Linked DNA regions of Homo sapiens: region 1 is linked to region 2. The links are contacts of gene promoters, found by promoter capture Hi-C in human tissues and cell types (Jung and others, 2019). All regions are on one chromosome and are shown on one strand. Each heading gives the region's core, a stretch centred on a gene start or on the middle of the fragment in contact. The rest is flanking DNA. Distances are from core to core; before and after follow the strand shown. Region 1 holds the start of COLGALT1 (collagen beta(1-O)galactosyltransferase 1). Region 2 holds the start of RAB3A (RAB3A, member RAS oncogene family).

Region 1 (6,690 bases), core at 2,129-4,628, 650 kb after region 2:
ACCACACCCGGCTAATTTTTTTGTATTTTTAGTAGAGACGGGGTTTCACCATGTTGGCCAGGCTGGTCTCGATCTCCTGACCTCGTGATCCGCCCACCTTGGCCTCCCAAAGTGCTGGACTTAACAAGCGTGAGCCACCGCGCCCGGCCCATTTCTCCCTTTCCATGTCAGTTTCCTCATCTGTAACATGGGGGTGGGAACAGGACCCAGTTTACTGGGAAGTGGAAGGATTAAACAAGCTGATTTTGGAAAGACCCATTAGTGATTGGCTGTTTTATTACTGAGCATCTAAGATCTTGCAAACCACATTCACTAACAAATATGTGTCACTTAATTTTTTTTTTCTTTTGAGACAGAGTCTTGCTCTGTCACCCAGGCTAGAGTGCAGTGGCACAATCTTGGTTCACTGCAATCTCCGCCTACCAGGTCCAAGCAATTCTCCTGCCTCAGCCTCCCGAGTAGCTGGGATTACAGGTGCCCACCACCATGCCCAGCTAATTTTTGCATTTTTAGTAGAGATGGGGTTTCGCCATGTTGGCCAGGCTGCTCTCGAACTCCTGACCTCAGGTGATCCACCTGCCTCAGCCTCCCAAAGTGCTGGGATGACAGGAATGAGCCACCGCACACGGCAATTTTTGTAATGTATAGATCAGGCCAGGCACGGTGGCTCACGCCTGTCATCCCAGCACTTTGAGAGGCCGAGGCGGGTGTATCACCTGAGGTCAGGAGTTTGAGACCAGCCTGGCCAACATGGCGAAACCCCATCTCTACTAAAAATACAAAAATTAGGCCGGGCATGGTGGCTCACGCTTGTAATTCCAGCACTTTGGGAGGCCGAGGCGGGTGAATCACTTGAGGCCAGGAGTTTGAGCCTAGCCTGGCCAACATGGTGAAATCCCATCTCTACTAAAAACACAAAAAATTAGCTGGGTGTGGTGGCGGGCACCTGTAATCCCAGCTACTCAGGAGGCCGAGGCAGGAGAATCGCTTGAACCTGGGAGGAGGAGGTTGCAGTGAGCCGAGATCGTGCCACTGCACTCCAGCCTCAGCAACGAGAGCGAGACTCAGTCTCAAAAAATAAATAAATAAAAAATATTAAAAAATGAAATGTATATATCAGAAACCAGCTGGGTGCAATGGCTCACGCCTGTAATCCCAATATGTTGGGAGGCCGAGGTGGGCAGGTCACTTGAGCTCGGGAGTTCGAGACCAGCCTGGCCAATAGGGCAAAACCCCATCTCTAGAAAAAATACAAAAATTAGCTGGGCGCAGTGGCATACGCCTGTAGTCCCAGTTACTCAAGAAGCTGAGGCAGGAGAATCACTTGAGCCCAGGAGGGGGAAGTTGCAGTGAGCTAGGATTGCACCACTGCACTCCCGCCTGGGCGACAGATGTAAAACCCTGTATCAAAAAAAAAAGTATATCTCAGCAGGGCGCTGTGGCTCATGCCTGTAATCCCAGCACTTAGGGAGGCCGAGGCAGGCAGATCATGAGGTCAGGAGATCAACACAAGCCTGGCCACAATGGTGAAACCCTGACTCTATTAAAAATACAAAAATTAGCCAGGCATGGTGGTGCGCACCTGTAATCCCAAGCTACTCGGGAGGCTGAGGCAGGAGAATCACTTGAACCCGGAGGCGGAGGTTGCAATGAGCTGAGATCGTGTCACTGTACTCCAGCCTGGGCGACAGAGCAAGATTCCGTCTGAGAGAAAAAAAAAAGTATATCTCAAAGTATATCTCATAAATCCCTTACCCTGCCTTCATCTTCTCCTGTGAGCCACACCACTTCAGTGGGCTGCAGTCAATTATTCATTCAACAAACATTTGTTAAGTACCAATTGTGTATTTGGATTATCCAGACTGAGAAATCAGGTGGAAGGAAAAGCGACATTTGGGAGTTTAGTTTGACCGTAGTGCCAAAAGCTAATTCTGCCCAATAAATTAAGTTGACAATAACACCAGCAATGACAGTAATCATGATAATAAAATCACTGAGAGCCAAGCCCATGCCAGACCCAAGGGCTCCACATCCATTAACTGGATAATCTTCAGAGACAAACCCAAAAAGAGAATTATATTAATACGCTCATTTTCTTTTCTTTTTCTTTTTTTAGAGGCAGGTCTTACTCTGTAGCCCAGGCTGGAGTGCAGTGGTGCAATCATAGGTCACTGCAGCCTCGAACTCCTGGGCTCAAGCGATTCTCCTGCGTCAGCCTCCTGAATAGCTGGGACTACAGGCACACACCACCGCACCTGGCTAATTTTTGTATTTTTTTTCTAGAGACGGGGTTTTGCCATGTTGGCAAGGCTGGTGTCGAACTCCTGAGCTCAAGTGACCCGCTTACCTTGGCCTCCCAAATTGCTAGGATTACTGCGTGAGCCACTGCACCCGGACCCATTTTCCATTTGAGAAAACTGAGGCAGGGAGTGAGAAGTCACCAGTCAAAGGTTTCTTCAGAGCTCTGCCCCATTCCCTACCAAGAAAGCATCCACTTCCTCCTGGGCCATCTGGTCCTGGACTCCACCCACGCCGGTCTGAGGGCAGGGGTTTGACTGGGGCCTGGAGCCAGGCTGAGTTCAAGCTTAAGGGCAGCAGCCGGCACAGAAAGGCTTGCTGTTAGATGTGGCCTCTGGCAACGCCCCAGTGGGGGCTCTGGGCTCCGTCCTTTGGAGGTGTACGTGCCCCAGAGGGAGTTAGAGCCCCAGTTAGTGAGGCCGGAGCTGCCCTAGTAGGGTCCAGCAGGCAGAAGCGGTGCCCAGCCCACCCCAAAGGAGCCAGCAGGAGGAACTCGGTCCCGCTTGTGTTGTGGGGAGGGCTGTGTCTGGCCCCATGGGAGGACAGCAGGCAGGGGGCACGCGTGGACCCGTCCCGATGGGGGCAGCGGGCAGGGGCATGCGTAGAACCGTCCCGATGGGGGTAGCGAGCAGGAAGCACGCGCGGACCCGCCCAGAAGAGGACAGCGGGCAGGGGCTCGCGTGGACCCACCCCTATGGGGACAGCAAGCAGGGGCTCGCGTGACCCGCCTGATGGGGACAGCGGGCTCGACTCACCATAGCGCCGTGCGCTCCCGCGGGTGCCGCAGCCGCTCGAGTGCGCCCAGCGTGGTGGGCAACGCGTGGGCCGCGTTTCGCGCCAACAGCGCGATGAGCACGCGCGGCGCCTGCAGGGGCGACTCCGGGCTCCAGCGCTCCTCGGGGAAGTAGGCGTCGGCGCCCGGCGGGGCCCCCGGCGGCAGTGGCGCCAGCAGCAGAAGCAGCAGCGCCAGGAGCGGCTGCCCGCGCCGCCGGCCCGCGCGTGGGGCCGCCGCCATCGCGCCACGCGTCTCCTTTAAGTCGTTTTTCTGCGGGAGGACTCTGGCCGCGCCTTAAAGGGGTCATAGGGGCCCCGCCCGGCCGCGCGCCTTAAAGGGGAGGAGCGCGCCGGGCGTGAAGTCCAGGCCCCGCCTCCAGACGCTCTCCGAGTCCCAAGGCCCGGAGTGACGTCACCTGCAGCCCTACCCAGGACGCCCCGCCCCCGCACCGATCTTAAAGGCACATAGCGCTCGGAGCGCGTGGAAGGGATGTTAGGGGTAGCGTTAGGGTTAGGAACCCGCGCTTCCTCCAGGCGCCTCCTACCACTGAGACCTCCGCCAGATGCGCCGCCCAATTTCCCCATGTATAAAACCCGGGCTGTGCCACCAGGCGGACTTGGCTACTTAGGACCTGGTTTGGGACCCAAGAGACCTTAGCCTCAGTTTCCTCTGCTGCAACGTGGGTTTTGCCATCCTGGTTTTGGATCTCACAGGGATGTCATTGAGGGTTGTGGAGAATAAAGGTCATGACGTCCACAGACCTGGCGTCACATTCAGTCCCCGCCTTGGGCTTGCTATATGTGAGCCTCAGTCTGTCCATCTATAAAATGAGATCATAGAGACCCTATAGGGTTGGCGTGAAAATAGAGCCAGGGCATGATAATGGACCGTTCTGGGCACAAGCTCTTCCAGAGACAAGGGCCATGTTTTCATGGAAACGCTGTCAAGGGATTGTTTTCCAATACTCTAGAGCCGCATTTTCAAATTGATTGACTTAGTATCACACTTTTTTTTTTTTTTTTTTGAGACGGAGTCTGGCTTTGTTGCCCGGGCTGGAGTGCAGTGGTGCAACATAGCAAGACCGTGCCTCTATTTTTAAAAACAATAAAAACTTTAAAAAATACATCTGAACATTATTATTATTATTATTATTATTTTCTTTTTTTTTTTTTTTGAGACAGCGTCTCACTCCATTGCCCCGGCTAGAGTACAGTGGCGCGATCTCGGCTCACTGCAACCTCCGCCTCCCGGGTTCAAGCGATTCTCCTGCTTCAGCCTCCTGAGTAGCTGGGACTACAGGCACGCGCCACCACGCCCGGCTAATTTTTGTTTATAGTAGAGATGGGGTTTCACCATATTGGCCAGGCTGGTCTCGAACTCCTGACCTCCTGATCCGCCCACCTCAGCCTCCCAAAGTGCTGGGATTACAGGCGTGAGCCACCGCGCCCAGCTTATTATTATTTTCACAGAGAGGGTCTTACTCTGTGGCTCAGGCTAGAGTGCAGTGGCATGATCACATGATCATGGCTCACTGCAGCCTCAACCTCCTGGGCTCAACTGATCCTCCTGCCTCAGCCTCCCAAGTAGCTGGGACTACAAGTGCACTCAACCACGCCCAGCTAATTTTTAAATTTTTTGTAGAGATGGAGTCTCGCTATGTTGCCCCGGCTGTTCTCAAACTCCTGGTCTCAAGTAATCCTCCCCCTTCAGCCTCCCAAACTGCTGGGATTACCAGTGAGCCATCATGCCCCGCTAAAACTTAATTTTTAAGAATGATACAGGCCAGGTGCAGTGGCTCACGCCTGTAATCCCAGCATTTTGGGAGGCTGAGGCAGGCGGATCACTTGAGGTCAGGAGTTCGAGACCAGCTTGGTCAATATGGTGAAGCCCCCATCTCTTCTAAAAACACAAAAAATTAGCCGGTCATGGTGGCGCTTCGCCTGTAATCCCAGCTACTACGGAGGCCGAGGCAGGAGAATCACTTGAACCCAGGAGGTGGAGGTTGCAGTGAGCCAAAATCGCACCACTGCATTCCAGCCTGGGTGACAGAGTGAGACACCGTCTCAAAAAAAAAAAAAAAAAGGTAAAAACAAATTTACACTCTGTGGACTTGATGAGGAAAGGTCTTTTCATATTAAGTAAGAAAAAGGAGGTGACAAGATACATCCCATCCCATCTGGAAGGATTTAGACCCAAGGGCAAACAATGTTTTTCTCAAAAGGGGCAGGATGACAAATTCTTGTAGCTGCAATTGTTCCAGAATTAACATCTACATCCCGTCCGGGGTAAAAGGAAGACAGCTAAAGAAGCCTATGAAGTGCAAATGTATTGAGCAAATGTATTTCGGAAGGTGGGGTTGGAGGGAAATAGGTGGAAAGGTCAGGAATATCTCATTGTCTTGGGGTAGGCCGAAAACTCCAGACAGAATGGGAGGAAACGGTCTCCAGGGAGTGTGAAAGTCCCTCTGCAAGCTGAACCAAGAACACACGGGAATCCCTGTGGAACCCACTCCGGAAGCAGCTGCAAGACAGCAGAGAAGCTGCCAATATCCAGTTAGCAGATGACTTTGCTGGCAAGCAGAGGAAGTCGGTAAAAGCTTGTCTCCCAGCCAGGAAACTTGACACCAAGTTAAGATTTGGAGCTAGGAAACAAACCCAAAAGGCTCACAGCAAGCGGAGAAAAAAACCCCAAAATCTGTAACCTGTATCACAAAGCGTTCATATCCTTCAGATATAAAGAGTTATTAGATATCAATAAGAAAAATGCAAACACTCCTGAAAAGTAGAAAAAAGCTATGAACAGGCAATTCACTGAAATTAAAAAAAAAAAAACTACAAACATGTAAATGGCTAATCAACATATTTGGATTTTGTTTTTTGAGACAGGGTCTCACTCCCATCACCCAGGCTGGAGTGCAGTGGTGCAATCACCACTCACTGCAGCCTTGAGTTCCCAGGCTCAGGTAAATCTCCCATCTCAGCCCAGCTTCTTTTAAATTTTATTTATTTATTTATTTATTTATTTATTTATTTATTTATTTTATTTTTTAGTAGAGACAGGTTTCACCACATTGCCCAAGCTGGCCTCAAAACTCCTTGGCTCAAGCAATCCACCTGTCTCAGCCTCCCAAAGTGCTGGGATGACAGGCGTGAGCCACCACTCCCGGCCGCTAATTTTGTATTTTTTGTAGAGATGAGGTCTCACTATGTTCGCCAGGCTGGTCTTGAACTCCTGAGCTCAAGTGATCTGCCCGCCTCAGCCTCCCAAAGTGCTGGGATTACAGGTGTGCACTGCCACGCCTGGCCATAATAAACTTATTTGTAAGTTCAATTTAGTCAAAGAAATTCAAAATAAAATCATGAGATTTCTGTGTGTGTCTAACTGGCATAGCTTTTTTCTTTTCATGAAAAGTCCTAGTGTTTAGAAAGGATTTGGAGGCTGGACATAGTGGATCACTCCTATAATCCTAGCACTTTGGGAGGCCAAGGCAGGAGGATTGCTTGAGTCCAGGAGTTTGAGATCAGCCTGGGCAGCATAGCGAGACCTTGTCTCTATTATTTAAAAAAAAAAAATTAGGCCACGTGTGGTGGCTCACACCTGTAATCCCAGCACTTTGG
Region 2 (6,349 bases), core at 1,939-4,438:
ATTCATATTTCTTATAAATGAATATTCATATGTTCTCCTTCAGTTTGAGCCAAAGGCATTTGTCCCTCTCCTCTTACTGACTGCATCTGCTCTGGCCACACTGCAAGCCTGGTCCCACCACAGGGCCTTCAAACAAGCTGTTCCCACTACCTGGAATGCTTCTCTCTCAGCCCCCAGCCTCACCCATTAGATTTTTGTTTTTATTTTTGTTTTAGACAAAGTTTCGCTCTTGTTGCCCAGGCTGGAGGACAATGGCGTGATCTTGGCTCACTGCAACCTCTGCCTCCCGGGTTCAAGCGATTCTCCTGCCTCAGCCTCCCAAGTAGCAGGGATTACAGGCGACCGCCACCATGCCCGGCTAATATTTAGTAGAAATGGGGTTTCACCATGTTGACCACGCTGGTCTTGAACTTCTGACCTCAGGTGATCCACCCACCTCGGCCTCCCAAAGTGCTGGGATTACAGGCATGAGCCACCACACCTGGCCCCCACACTGGGTTTTAAGTTAGTGTCTTCTTCCCCGAGAAGTCGTCCCTGGACCCGTATCTGGGATACTTTTTTTTTTTTTTCTTGAGACAGAGTCTCCCTCTAGCACCTAGGCTGGCGTGCAGTGGTGCCGGTGATCTCAGCTCACTGCAACCTCCGCCTCCCTGGTTCATGCGATTCTCATGCCTGGGCCTCCTGAGCAGCCTCCTGGGACAGGCACCACCACACCGGGCTAATTTTTGTATTTTTAGCAGAGATGGGGTTTCACCATGTTGGCCAGGCTGGTCTCGAACTCCTGACCTCAAGGTCAAGGAGTGATCCTCCTGACTCGGCCTCCCAAAGTGCTGGTATTACAGGCATAAACCACCGCACCTGGCCACATTTTTATTTTTATTTGTCTAGTGTAGACGATAGGGTAGGGATGCAGGGAAGCCTCTGGACTTTCCTCTGAGTGGGACCGGCCTGGAAGCCTAGCCCGTTCTCCCACCAGCTCTGTCTCCCCTGACACAAAGAAAATACCCCAATCCCGCAGCCCCTCCCCCAGCTCAACCATTTCTAATTCCAGAGCCCAATGCTGCTCTGGACAATCAAGGGCTTGCATTCTTTTTAAATTTAAATTAAGTAATTAATTTTTTGAGACAGCGTCTCACTCTGTCGTCCAGGCTGGAGTGTAGTGGCGCGATACGGTTTCCTACAGCCTCGACCTCCTGAGCTCAAGTGATCCTCCTACTTCAGCCTCGGGAGTATTTGGGTCCACAAGCACGCGACACCACATCCAGCTAATTTTTAAATTTTTTGTAGAGATGGGGCCTCCCTATGTTACTCAGGCTGGTTTCCAATTCCTGGGCTCAAGCGATCCTCCCGCCTTGGTCTCCCAAAGTGGTGGGATTACAGGCGTAAGCCTCCGCACCCGGCTATTTTTACTTTAAAATACTAAGTCAGTGACGGAAGCTTCCGCACATTCTCGTGGCTCACTTTTCTCTTCCTGGGGAAAAAAGGCAGGAGGTATTTCCGAGAGAGCCACCCATGTAGGAAGCGTGCCTTTGGGCGATCAGGGAGCTGAGCAACCGAAAAACCTCCCCTCCAAGGAGGCGGCAGGCCAGGGCCTGGACCAGCTGCCCTGGAGCCCCCCACAGAGCACGGACTACCGCGTGGGCGCGGAGGGCAGGGAGAATGGGAGGTGGATTTCTTTTTATTTTTTGTTTTTCTGAATTTTCCCAATTTCTCTGCAGTGGATTGGTGATACTTCTATAGTCCGAGTGGGGGAGGAGGGAGCAAACATGTTACCCTAAAAAGAAAAAATAAATTTCCCAAATGTAAACGGTGCGGGGACGTGGGGGTGGGCGTCCCAGTACTCCCAGGGCACTGGGGGCGGGCTGGGGACTGGGTTGGCGGCGGCTGGGCCTCGAGGCGCTAAGTTATTCTGGTCTCTCGGCGCCTCCGCAGCTGGCGAGCTTTTTATAAACAGGACGAGTCACCCCCCGCCACACACACACGCTCCAGCCCCGCCTACTGGGAGGGGTGGGGGGAGAATCTAGGGGATCAGGACTCTCCTGGGGGCCACACACCCCTGGAGGGTTTGAAAGCTGGAGTAGGGGGAGCAGGAGACCCAAAGTGGGGGCTGGGGTTTCGGGCTCCTCCTCCCTCCCCAAATTCTGACTTCCTTCCCTAAAGATTTGGAGGAATAAAAGATGGACCATCTTAGCTCCCAAAAGGCTCCATCCTCTGAGTTTTGCTTTCCCAGGATGGAGGGAGGGGGTCTCCCAGCCCCCGGGTCTTTGAATCCGAGCTTTGAAGAGCTGGAGGCTTCGGCTCGTGCCCTCCCTGTTTCCCGGGGCATTTACCGCAGGCTTTAAGGGGTTTCCGGGACAGGTCGCTTCTCTGTCCCTGCTAAACCTTTTCTTCGAATTTTCTTCTTGATGACGGGGCGCAGGGAGGGGAGGGGGTTCCCAGAGAGTCCATCAGCCCCTTCCTCCTTTTCTGGGAATGGTGGGGAGGGGAGGCTCTCTTGACCTCTACTTCTTTCTTTTCAAACCTCAGAAACGGGGGAGGGGTGGAGTCTTTACTAGCCCCTCCCTCAGTGGGGGGGTCTTACGCCTCGGGAATGGGACAGGGGTCCCTCTTGACTCCTGTTTATTCTTTGGTATTTATTTTGAACCCCATATATGTGAGGGTATAAAACATCTCTTGGGCCTCGATTTTTCTTTTCTGCAATTGGGAGTCAGGGGCATTTAACAGGGGTCACAGCACCTTGGACTAGACGGTGGCCTCAAGAGTCCCCTACCTGGGGTGGGTGCGGGCGGGTAAGGGAACCGCCCCTCGAAGACCGGGGCTCAGCCAAGGCCTCAGCCTCTCGGCCCTTCAATCTCCCAGATGCCACCATTGGACAAGAGGAGGGCGTAGACAATCTCTGATTGGCTACTTCGCCCGTCGCTCGAGAGCTTAAGCCAGTGAGAGAACGCTGAGGGGCCCCGCCTCCCCGAGGCGGACAGGAGGCGGACGAGAGGCGGAGTCGGCCCCCGCGCCGCTCCCGCCCCTACTGGATGCACACGCTAGGCCCCGCCCCATTTGCACGTCAATCTGCTCAGGAGCCCTGCCCCATCTGGCTCTGCGTGCGTCAATGGGCCACATCTCTACGCGCGGCTCCGCCTCCGGATGGCGTCACGGACTTATCTACATGTGAGGCTCCGCCCCTCCCTTTGCAGGACGTCACGGAGGACTGCAGGGGCCTGAGCCGCTGCTGCCGCCGCCGCCGCGCAGCCCCACATCAACGCACCGGGGTCCTGTCACCGCCACCGCCAAAAAAGTCACCGCCGCTAGGGTCGCCGTTGCATCGGTGCAGGGCAAGGTGAGCTCCTGGGCGGCCGGGTGTGCTCAGGCTCCGAGCACCTGCATAACCTTCATTTGACTGATGGGCTGATGGAGGTGGGGGACGAGGTTGACTAGGGTTGAATGGGGGGAAGGATGCGGCGGTCGCGAGGCTGGGAATGGGTAGGGCCCGGGCGCCCCACTCCTGCCTGATCCTCACCACTAACCCCCCCAACCCCCCTGCTCTGCGGCGGAGGGGGAGGGGAGCCGAGCTCCTTGCGGGAAGCTGTGCGCGCGGGAGGCTTTTGCGTGCGCGTGCGCGTGGTGTGCACACGCGTGTGCGCGCCTGCCTGTGTCAGCGGGTCTGTGTGCACCCTTGCTTGTGTACCTGGATATGCTCGTGTGACGCCGTGGGGGTCTGGGCCTAAGTGTGTGAGCGTTGCACGCGCGTGGAGAAAGACGTGTGGACCGCCTGTGCAGGTATGGCCCGTGCATACAAGCACGGGGATCCGTGTCCGTGTGGGTGATGTGCACACGCCTGCATGGGTGGAGGGGCCTGTGCGCACGGGTGGTTTGCACATTTCTATAGGCGAGTCGGTGTGCAAACAGGTGTCTGTGTCTTTGTCCTGTGCACCTCAGTGCGTTCACACACTCCTGTATGTACGGATGAGCGTGTTTGAGGCTGTGTGCACGTGAGCGTGTGCATGCCCCTCCTGTATCATGTGATGCAGCGGCCTTGGCCGGAGCTCTCCGGCCTGGAGGTTTGCGGGGAGCGGGGGCTGCAGATGCGCGTCCTCGAGGGACCATGCACGCGGTGCACGTGGGGCCGCGCGGCCGGGTTCTGAGGACCATGAAAGATTGATGGGGGGCGGAGCCAGCCGCAGTCACCCCCTCCGGGCTCAGCCCTGGGTTTAGGGTTACAGCCCCACCTGGGGCACCTGCCCCTTGAAGGGGGCTGCTGGGGTGTCCCCATCGGCAACCCTCTGAGCCCCTCCTCTGAAACGCCCAGGATTTCAAGGTCACAGGCTGCCCTCTGCTGGGGGCACCACCAATTAATACTGGGGCTCCTGATGGGATAAGGGTGTCCTCCATACACCGGCCGTTTTCTGGAGCCCTTGCCATCTTCTGCCTGGGCTTGGGCACATGAGGATGGAGAGAGCCCCCCTCACGGCTCTGCTACACCCGGTATCCCCAGATGGCATCCGCCACAGACTCGCGCTATGGGCAGAAGGAGTCCTCGGATCAGAACTTCGACTACATGTTCAAGATTCTCATCATCGGCAACAGCAGCGTGGGCAAGACGTCCTTCCTCTTCCGCTATGCTGACGACTCGTTCACGCCTGCCTTCGTCAGCACCGTGGGCATCGACTTCAAGGTCAAGACCATCTATCGCAACGACAAGAGGATCAAGCTGCAGATCTGGGTGGGTCCCAGCTGGAGGGCTCCCGCCCGGCTCGGTTGGATTCCCGTACTTGGAAAAGCAGCCCCAACCTCGTCTATCTCTTTCCTGACTGGAGTCATTCACTTACACACTGGGCATTTATCAGTAAGGTGCCCACTGTGTACCGGGGCAGAAACAGCACCTGTGTTCTCCCATAAGCACCTAATCCTGGTCCCTCAGTTTCCCCATCTTCAAGTTCTTCCATGTATGAGGTTTCAGCTGGATCTTGGTCCCCATTCTCTTTTTTTGTTTGTTTTTTGAGACAGGGTGGTCTTGCTCTGTCCCCTAGGCTGGAATGCAGTTACGTGATCACGGCTCTCTGCAGCCTCGACTTCCCAGGCTCAAACCATTCTTCCACCTGAGCCTCCTGAGTAGCTAGGACCACGGGCTTCTACCACCACGCCTGCTGATTTTTTTCTTTTTTGTAGAGACAGGGTCGGGCTATGTCTGCCCAGGCTGGTCTTGAACTCCTGGGCTCAAGCGATCCTCCCACCTCAGCCTCTCAAAGTGCTAAGATTACAGGCATGAGCCACCCCACCTGGCCTTGTTAGTTTTAAGAGACAGAGTCTCACTCTGTTGCCCAGGCTGGATTTGAACTCGTGGGCTCAAGCAATCCTCCCGCCTCAGCTTCCCAAGTAGCTGGGAGTACAGGCAAGTGTCAGCTTCCTTTAATTTTTAAACCTACAGTTAAATTCTCTCCATCTTCATCTGGCTTGATTTTTCTCCTTGGTCCTTGTCACTCTCCAATATAGGATACATTTATACCGTTATTTTCTATTTCCCACACTGAGTGTCACTTAGCAAGGGAAGTGCCCATCTTGTTAACAACTGTGTCCCCAGTGTCCAGTTCAGGGTGTGGAAAAGATCAGTGCCCAGTCCATGTTTGTTTATTTGTTTGTTTGTTTTTTGAGACAGAGTTTTTGCTCTGTCACCCAGGCTGGAGTGCAGTAGTGCAATCTTGGCTCACTGAAACCTCTGCCTCCCGGGTTCAAGCGATTCTCCTGCCTCAGCCTCCTGAGTAGCTGGGATTACAGGGGCTCACCACCAAGCCCAGCTAATTTTTTTTTGTATTTTTAGTAGAGATAGGGTTTCGCCATGTTGGCCAGGCTAGTCTTGAACTCCTGACCACAAGTGATCCACCTGTCTTGGCCTCCCAAGGTGCTGGGATTACAAGCATGAGCCACCACGCCTGGCCTCTGTTTTCTTTCTTTCTTTCTTTCTTTCTTTCTTTTTTTTTTTTTTTTTGTTGTTATTGTTTTGAGACGGAGTCTCGCTCTTGTCACCCAGGGTGGAGTGCAATGGCGCGATCTCGGCTCACTGCAACCTCTGTCTCCTGAGTTCAAGCGATTCTCCTGCCTCAGCCTCCTGAGTAGCTGGGATTACAGGTGCATGCCACCACGCCGAGCTAATTTTTGTATTTTTAGTAGAGACAGAGTTTCACCATGTTGGCCAGGCTGGTCTCGAACTCCTGACCTCAGGTGATCCACCTGCCTTGGCCTCCCAAAGTGCTGGGATTACAGGCGTGAGCCACCACCACACCCGACCCCCTGTTTGTTTTTTGAGACAGGGTTTCACTCTGTCACCCAGGCTGAACTGCAGTGGCGCGATCTCACC

Evidence for each region. The method cuts DNA at HindIII sites, captures the fragments that hold promoters and counts their contacts. A contact is called where the count stands out against the background at its distance.
Region 1: a contact is called between the fragment with the promoter of COLGALT1 here and the fragment with the promoter of RAB3A in region 2, in 1 of the 25 tissues and cell types used here (spleen).

The regions. Positions count from the first base shown.
Region 1 is chr19:17,552,337-17,559,026 of GRCh38, reverse strand. COLGALT1 (collagen beta(1-O)galactosyltransferase 1) reads right to left here and starts at 3,378. Exons shown (of 12, transcript NM_024656.4): 1 at 3,054-3,378. The coding sequence starts at 3,313. NIBAN3 (niban apoptosis regulator 3) reads right to left here. Exons shown (of 15, transcript NM_001321827.2): 15 at 5,387-6,690. RefSeq lists a silencer at 3,211-3,300. The HindIII fragment of the contact is 12,267 bases long and covers 1-6,690 here.
Region 2 is chr19:18,200,881-18,207,229 of GRCh38, reverse strand. It overlaps RAB3A (RAB3A, member RAS oncogene family), which reads left to right and starts at 3,188. Exons shown (of 5, transcript NM_002866.5): 1 at 3,188-3,334; 2 at 4,490-4,717. The coding sequence starts at 4,490. LOC102725254 (a long non-coding RNA gene) reads right to left here and starts at 2,500. Exons shown (of 2, transcript NR_134910.1): 1 at 2,331-2,500; 2 at 1,667-1,774. RefSeq lists silencers at 1,837-1,896, 2,782-3,171 and enhancers at 2,552-2,651, 2,837-3,131, 3,164-3,946. The HindIII fragment of the contact is 10,728 bases long and covers 1-6,349 here.